Regions from separate parts of the Homo sapiens genome. Here region 2 is linked to region 1. Evidence: promoter capture Hi-C in human tissues and cell types (Jung and others, 2019). All regions are on one chromosome and are shown on one strand. The core of a region is centred on a gene start or on the middle of the fragment in contact, and the rest is flanking DNA. Distances in the headings are between cores, read along the strand shown. Region 1 holds the start of KRTAP13-2 (keratin associated protein 13-2). Region 2 overlaps LOC105372772 (a long non-coding RNA gene).

Evidence for each region. Contacts are between HindIII fragments. The study calls those that stand out against the background at their distance.
Region 2: a contact is called between a fragment that was not itself captured here and the fragment with the promoter of KRTAP13-2 in region 1, in 1 of the 25 tissues and cell types used here (heart right ventricle).

What each region holds. Positions count from the first base shown.
Region 1 is chr21:30,370,360-30,373,989 of GRCh38, reverse strand. KRTAP13-2 (keratin associated protein 13-2) reads left to right here and starts at 1,719. Exons shown (of 1, transcript NM_181621.4): 1 at 1,719-2,600. The coding sequence starts at 1,777. The coding sequence ends at 2,304. The HindIII fragment of the contact is 3,845 bases long and covers 1-3,630 here.
Region 2 is chr21:30,417,084-30,420,713 of GRCh38, reverse strand. All of the region lies in intron 3 of LOC105372772 (a long non-coding RNA gene), which reads left to right. Among named protein-coding and RNA genes, the nearest start is that of KRTAP13-3, 7.0 kb to the left of the region's middle. The HindIII fragment of the contact is 4,108 bases long and covers 1-3,485 here.

The DNA.
Region 1 (3,630 bases), core at 470-2,969:
GAGCTGGTCTAGAAAGGCAAGAACTTTTGGATATTAGTAAGTTTTTTGTTTTCTTTTTTTTGAGCAGAATCAACCTGTAGTAAGAAAAGAAAAATATTTCTCATTTTAAAGGTGTTAAAAGCTGCCATTATAAGGAATCCCATGTGTTGGGGGTGGTGCATACTTTTTGGTGAATTTAATAGGTGTCCATTCATAAAGCACAGCTTATTTTACTTCAGTGAATCAGAGTGATGGTTTAAGTATTGCACAAGGGCACTTCATGTGATGCATGCCACACTTTGGATTCTGCATGGGAGAGATAATCATAAAACAAAGTAACTAAGTGCTCTGAAACAGTGTGCTTTGGAATGAAGGAAGTTAATTTTCAGGTAGTTAAGAGGCTCTCTTTTCGATAACCATTGTGAATGCCATTTCCCTTAGTTAAACCAAATAAAATGTCAAATTCAAAAGAAGAAGAATAGACACAGATAAGAAGCCTCTTCCCCCCATTAATCTAAACATGGATTACCAATATTCTTTCTCTTTCTTGGGCTAGGAAGTGAAATATACTTCAAATGTATGAAGATCAGTAAGGCATAGAATTCCCCAGTTGAACACTATTCAGTGTGAATATTGTTAGGAAAAGTAAATAAGGCTTTGTTAGGCTTTTATATCTTAGTATAAATAAGCTTAATAGTTTCTTTTCTGAGACAAGTTAAAGTTGAATTTACTTTTATATTTGCAAGGTATTTGCAACTTGACTCTGAATAAGAAAACCATAATTAAAGCTTCAATTTTGCTTCTATCTTACTGAGAAATTAGGGGAAAGTTAAAGCTCTCTGAGAGGTAATTTTTCCATGTATGGGTTGAACAGGGGATGTTTAAAGACCCATATAACTCTAATACTTCAAGTTAAAAGCTTCAGAAAAATGTTAACAATTCCTCAAAGTTTAAGTATAAATTAATAATTGCAGCTAAGAATCTGTCCTTTTATCCAGAAAAAAAAATTGAAACATAAAACAAAATAAAATTTATGAGTTGATTTAGAGCATAACCATAGAATAGTGCTTGCTACAAGATAGGTTCATCAGAAAATATCTGAAAAACTTCAATTTAAAGTCTTACTAAAAAGTTTGTGTTTATTGTTTCCTAAGTGAGCATTGTCTAAAGTAGCCTCTTGTTAAGGAAGATGCCTGATATGGACACCCAACATAATGCTGCACTCCTCAGTTCTGATCCTGAGCTCTTAAGGTACTAGTAAAAGGTTTAACTGACAGATTGCTGAGGCTACTGAATACAGTTAGTATTTGGAGAAATCCTCCGTTTCTGGTAACAAATAATATGCTTGTGTTAAAAAGAAGGACAATCTATTTTGAGTAGTAACCACTGATGCTCCTGATAACTTAAGGGAAGTAAAGAAAGAATTTTGTGTAATTCCATTTGGTACAATAAGGACTCACTGTACTCAAATAATAAGAGGCAAGATACTCATAAATGTGATGACATATAACATTGAAGGTCAAACCACAGTGAATTCCAGGAAAAAAAAAAACTGAGTGGCTTCCTTCTAAGTGTTCCAGAGTGACTAAAGTACAAGTAAGTATATGAAGATGTGATAAATTAAACAATAACCTAGGGAAGCATTCTTATAATAAAAAGTGAGCAAGGAGAAGGGAGTGTCGAGACAGTGGACACACCCAGGTCTAAGAGCATATATAACTTGGAGTCCAGACTATGACATTCAAACTCAGAGAATCTTTCCACTATAACTCAGCTGAACTCACATCTCCCGTCAACATGTCCTACAACTGCTGCTCTGGAAACTTCTCCTCCCGCTCCTGTGGTGACTACCTGCGCTACCCAGCATCCTCACGTGGCTTTTCCTACCCCAGCAATCTGGTCTACAGCACTGACCTCTGCTCTCCCAGCACCTGCCAGCTGGGTTCCTCTCTCTATAGGGGCTGTCAGGAGATCTGCTGGGAGCCCACCAGCTGCCAGACGTCCTATGTGGAGTCCAGCCCCTGCCAGACCTCCTGCTACCGCCCCAGAACCTCCTTGCTCTGCAGTCCTTGCAAGACGACTTACTCTGGGTCTCTAGGCTTTGGATCCAGCAGCTGCCGCTCCCTGGGCTATGGATCGAGGAGCTGCTACTCAGTGGGCTGTGGGTCCAGTGGTGTCAGATCCCTGGGTTATGGAAGCTGTGGCTTCCCTTCCCTCGGCTATGGATCTGGATTCTGCCGCCCAACCTACTTGGCTTCTAGGAGCTGCCAGTCTCCTTGTTACAGACCAGCCTATGGATCAACCTTCTGCAGATCAACTTGCTGAATTTCCAGACCTTTTAAGCAAAGTGTCTCAGTCTCTACGTAGAGCTGTTATCATAGGCATTTCCAGCAATGTGAGCTAACCCCTCTTACTACTAGCTCTTCATCCTTTCTCTGGCATCAAGTACTGGCTGGACAGGCTAGTTCTTTCAGACTGTGAAATTAATGAATGAGCAAAATATAGAGTCAAATGTCTATAATTTTGAAACAAGTGATTCGTTATCACGTAAGTTCATCTTATAAAGTATATGGAAGTTCAGTTTTGTTTCACGTAATAAATTCATTTACTGTTGATTCCAATATGTTCTCTTTGTCTTTTATTGGTTTCCAAAGTTTGATTTGTGATCTGTTTTGGGGGCTCCAGGCCCCCAGACGTCTTTTCCTTGGACATCCATTTCCATCGGTAATGTCATCAGGCCTAGTGTGTGGGGAGATTCTCCGGGCATGCCAGTGCCTAAAAGACTGAGCAAGTGCATGTCTTCTGCCATGAAAACTGGTTGGATTCTTAACAGAATTATTGAGAGTACACTCATAATGGTGGTGTGTTTTCAAGGAAGACACATTTTGCTGACAATCATATTTGCTTTTTGTTTACATTTTTAAAAGAGTATTTAGAGTTTTCTCAGAAGATGTCAACTAGGTGATTAAATATAAAATTATGAAATATTTGAATAAATCTGAAATGTTATGATGGAAAAGGGAAAATATGAAATGTTAGGTACTGGAGGACATTACGGTTGTGTTTAAATATAGGAGAAAATTAATTATTCAGTGTGTGTGTGTGTTTGTGTTGTGTGTGTGTGAGAAAGAGAGAGAGAGCACAGAAGACAGAAAGACTTAAGGTTTACAACTGTGAGTAATGGAAACAGTTATAGGGAGAAATACTTTGGCTTGTTTTAAATGTATATTTATAAATCATAAATTTATAGAACTATTATGACCTTTGTGTTTTCTTTGGATTATTGAGTTTATCAACAAGGAAAAAGATATTACTTTTCAGTGATTTCTGCATTGAGTGGCAGTTAAAATTAGATTACTTTCAATGTTCTAGATTTTATAACCTCCCTCAGTATCCTTGGAATCCACTGCTCAGCTGTGACAGTGTGAATAAAAATAAATATTTGTAGGATGCTATTCACATCTGAGATATAAGACCTTCTCTATTTATTTTAATTTAAGCAAGTGATTTCTTTCAGAGGCTAAAGGTAGTGTAAAAGTTCAGCTAAAACTTTTTCATAAAATATTCAATAACAACTCTCCATGAATGGGAAAACAACTTTGAAAGATTATCATTTCCTCCAATAATATGTCACGAGCTTTAATTGATTTT
Region 2 (3,630 bases), core at 182-2,681, 47 kb before region 1:
TATTTTGGAGCCATTCTAGGCAGGTCCTTAGAGTTGTAATTTGGTGTTGCAGACATTCTTCTAAAACCAACAAGAAGCCATTAAATATTTTTAAGCAGAGGTATATCTATAAGAATACCTCTGTTTTTAAATAATATTTTTTATTCAATCAATATTTACATACCATGAAATGCACATATTTCAAAGGGTAGAGCTTGTTGTCTTTGATGAATATACACACCTGTGTAATGACTACCTGATCAAAATACAGAAAATTTCTTCACTCCAGAAAATTCACTCATGTTCCTTTCTTAAATCAATTCCTGACCCCAGACACAGCTACTGTAGTGATTGCTATCACCATACATTAACTTGCTTCTTCTAGAACTTCATAAAAATGAAATCATACATTTTTTTTATCATATGCATCTTTTTTCACTCAACTTAATGTTTTCGAAAAGCTTCATGTGGTGATATGTTTTATTCATTTTATTGGTGCCGTATATTCCCTTTTGTTAATAATATCACAATGTGTGTATTCTTTCATCTATTGACTGACATCAAATTTTCTCAAGATTTAAAAAATAGAGCACAATGAATATTGATTGTTCCAGTTTCTTTTTGTGAACATATGTTTTTAGTTTTTTCTCGGGGGGAAGAAAACCATGAATGAAATTTCTGGACCATAGAGTCGGCATATGCTCAACTAAATTAGAAATTGCCAAACAGTTTTCCAAAGTTAGTTTCATTATTTTACTATCCCACCAGCAATTTCCTAGACGCCTACGAACTCCATCGTCACCAACATTTGCCATATTTCTTTCAGCCATTTGCTAAGTGGCATCTCACTGTGGTTTTAAGTTGCATTTATTTGGTGACTAGTGATTTTTATACACCTTTTTTATGTTTATTGGCCATACCCATGGAATCTTTTGTTTAGTGTTTATTTTTCCCTCATTATTGTTATATTTTTATTGATACTAAAGTTGAATTTTTTTACGTATTCCCAAAGTAGTTATTAGTATTGGTAATTTCCTATGTATTGTTCGCCTTCTTTTTTGAAAATAAAAAATCAACTTTTATCTTAGATTCAAGTGACACATGTGCAGGTTGATAACATGGGTATATTGCATGATGCTGAGGGTTGGGGTACAATTGATCCCATCACTTAGGTACTGAGTATAGTACCCAACCAGTTTTTAATCCTTGCCCCTTTCTTCTCTCCCCACTCTAGAAGTTCCCATTGTTTATTGTAGCCATCTGCATGCCCATAAGTACCAAATGTTTAACTCCCACTTGTAAGTAACAAGATATGGTATTTGTTTTTTTTGTTCCTGCTTTAAATTCACTTAGGATGATAGCCTCCAGCTGCATTCCTGATGTTGCAAAGAACTTGATTTTGTTCTTTTTTATGGCTCTAAGTATTTCATCGTGTATACGTACCATATTTTCTTTATCCAATCCACTGCTGATGGACACCTGAAAGAGGTCCCAATCCAGACGCAAGAGAGAGTTATTAGATCTTGCACAAGAAAGAATTCAGGACAAGTCTTTAAAGTGAAAGCAAGTTTATTAGGAAAGCAAAGGAATAAAAGAACGGCTACTCCATAGGCAGAGCAGCCCCGAGGGCTGCTGGTTGCCCATTTTTATGGTAATTTCTTGAGTATATGCTAGACAAGGGGTGAATTATTCCTGTCTCCCCTTTTTAGACCATAAAGGGTAACTTCCTGATGCTTCCATGGCATCCGTAAACTGTCATGGCGCTGGTGGGAATGTAGCAGTGAGTATGACCAGAGGTCACTCTCGTCTCCATTTTGGTTTTGCTGGGTTTTAGCTGGCATCTTTACTGCAACCTGTTTTATCAGCAAGGTCTTTATAACCTGTATCTTGTGCCAACTTCCTGTCTCATCCTGAGACTTAGAGTGCCTTAACCATCTGGAAATGCAGCCCAGTAGATCTCACCCTTATTTAACCCAGCTCCTATTCAAGATGGAGTAGCTCTGCTTCAAACACCTCTGCTATTTCCCCCACTTTTATAAGAAAACTCTTAATCCTAAGGGTTGCTGAGGGATGAAGATCCATCTTCTGTAACATCTTCAGGCTGAATACGGGCGATGATATTCCTGCCTAACCATTAGGGTCTCTTGTGTTCAGGGTAGAGAGGAGCTCAGTTAGAAAGAGTTGGTATGCTGAGGGTCATTTATAACTCTTGAGTTCTGACAAAAGGTGATATCTGGGAGATTAATTAAGTGTTCAATTTAAGAAAACATTTAGTAAGCTTATTCTGCATTCCTATACCAAGAGTACAACAGCAATATATTCCACAAGAATAAAGCAAAACAAGTAAAATTATCCCAAACAAACTAAATTAGAAGACTTTTCATGAACTGGGCAACAGGTGGAACCAAGCTGATGTGGGGTTGCTAGCTATTTGCAATGTGCCCAGAATTAACTGATTTAGATTTTTACATTACCCATCCTTCTTGTTTTTTCTGAGCAGCAGTTAGAGATCACTGGTTGGTACGCAAGAATAAGTAGGGTTAGCCTACATTGCAGAAACAAAGTTATAAACAACTGATGAGATGAGAATTTAATAACAACTGTACCATAGTTCTGGAAACATAATATTTCTCTCTCCAGTTTTTCATTTTTACTAAAGACAAATCATGATAAGACTTATTGGCTTTATTATACTTGGCCTGATTATTTGTATAAATGGCAGAAAGAATAATTATTTTGTTACATAAACTCTTTTTAAATTGTCTTTGATGGAACTCTGCTCCATAGAAGGACTCGTAGGTAAGACTTTTTAAGAGCCCAGCCCAGACATGGGTTTGCACCTTCAAATATCTATGAGTTGAGTAAATTCCTCTCCTCTTGGGGTCCCAAGATAACTTGGGGCTCCTGGACCTGTTAGAGAGTGACATTCTTCACTTACCACAGGTCACAAACCCTATAAGGGACTATGGTAGACAAGGTGTAAGGCCAGGTTCCCAGGGGCTTTTATAGGCTTTACAAGTCAAGTTTGATTCCTTAAAGGAAAACACACCATTCCAGACAAAGCTGTGGTAAAATAACCAGTTTCTCCAATGGTGTCCTGCTGCAAAAGAAAACAGATTCTTACTGAACTTATGCAAATAACCATATAACCATAAATTAAGAATACTCACAAATATGTGTTTCCAAATTCTGGAGAAATCAGCTAGAGAGAAACAAATATGCTCCAAATTTTGTTCACAGGAGTATACTCTACTCAATTGTCAAAGGCTGTAAATAGCTCTAAAGAAAAATTTCCTTCATTCTGAAAAACAAAACAAAGAATCAGCAATGTTTTAAGCAAAAAGATAAACGGATTACTTTAGACTTCTTCAGTTTATTCCATGAAGTTAATTTCTGTTCTGCTTGATATTCATGAACATTTTAGCTCTCCATGAGACTTCTGGAAGTTGTTTTCTCTGTTCTGATGTCACAGTCTCTAAAGTTATCAGAAATCTGTATTCAAGTGTACCTGTTGGAGTTCTGTAGCTGACTATAAAACCACCTTCTAAAGAGGACTAAAATGAGACAACAATTATCTGTAGGTGACAAAACGTCTTAGGACAGCCACAGTCAAAAACATGATTGACAGAGAAATTTGGTTACCTCTGTGCC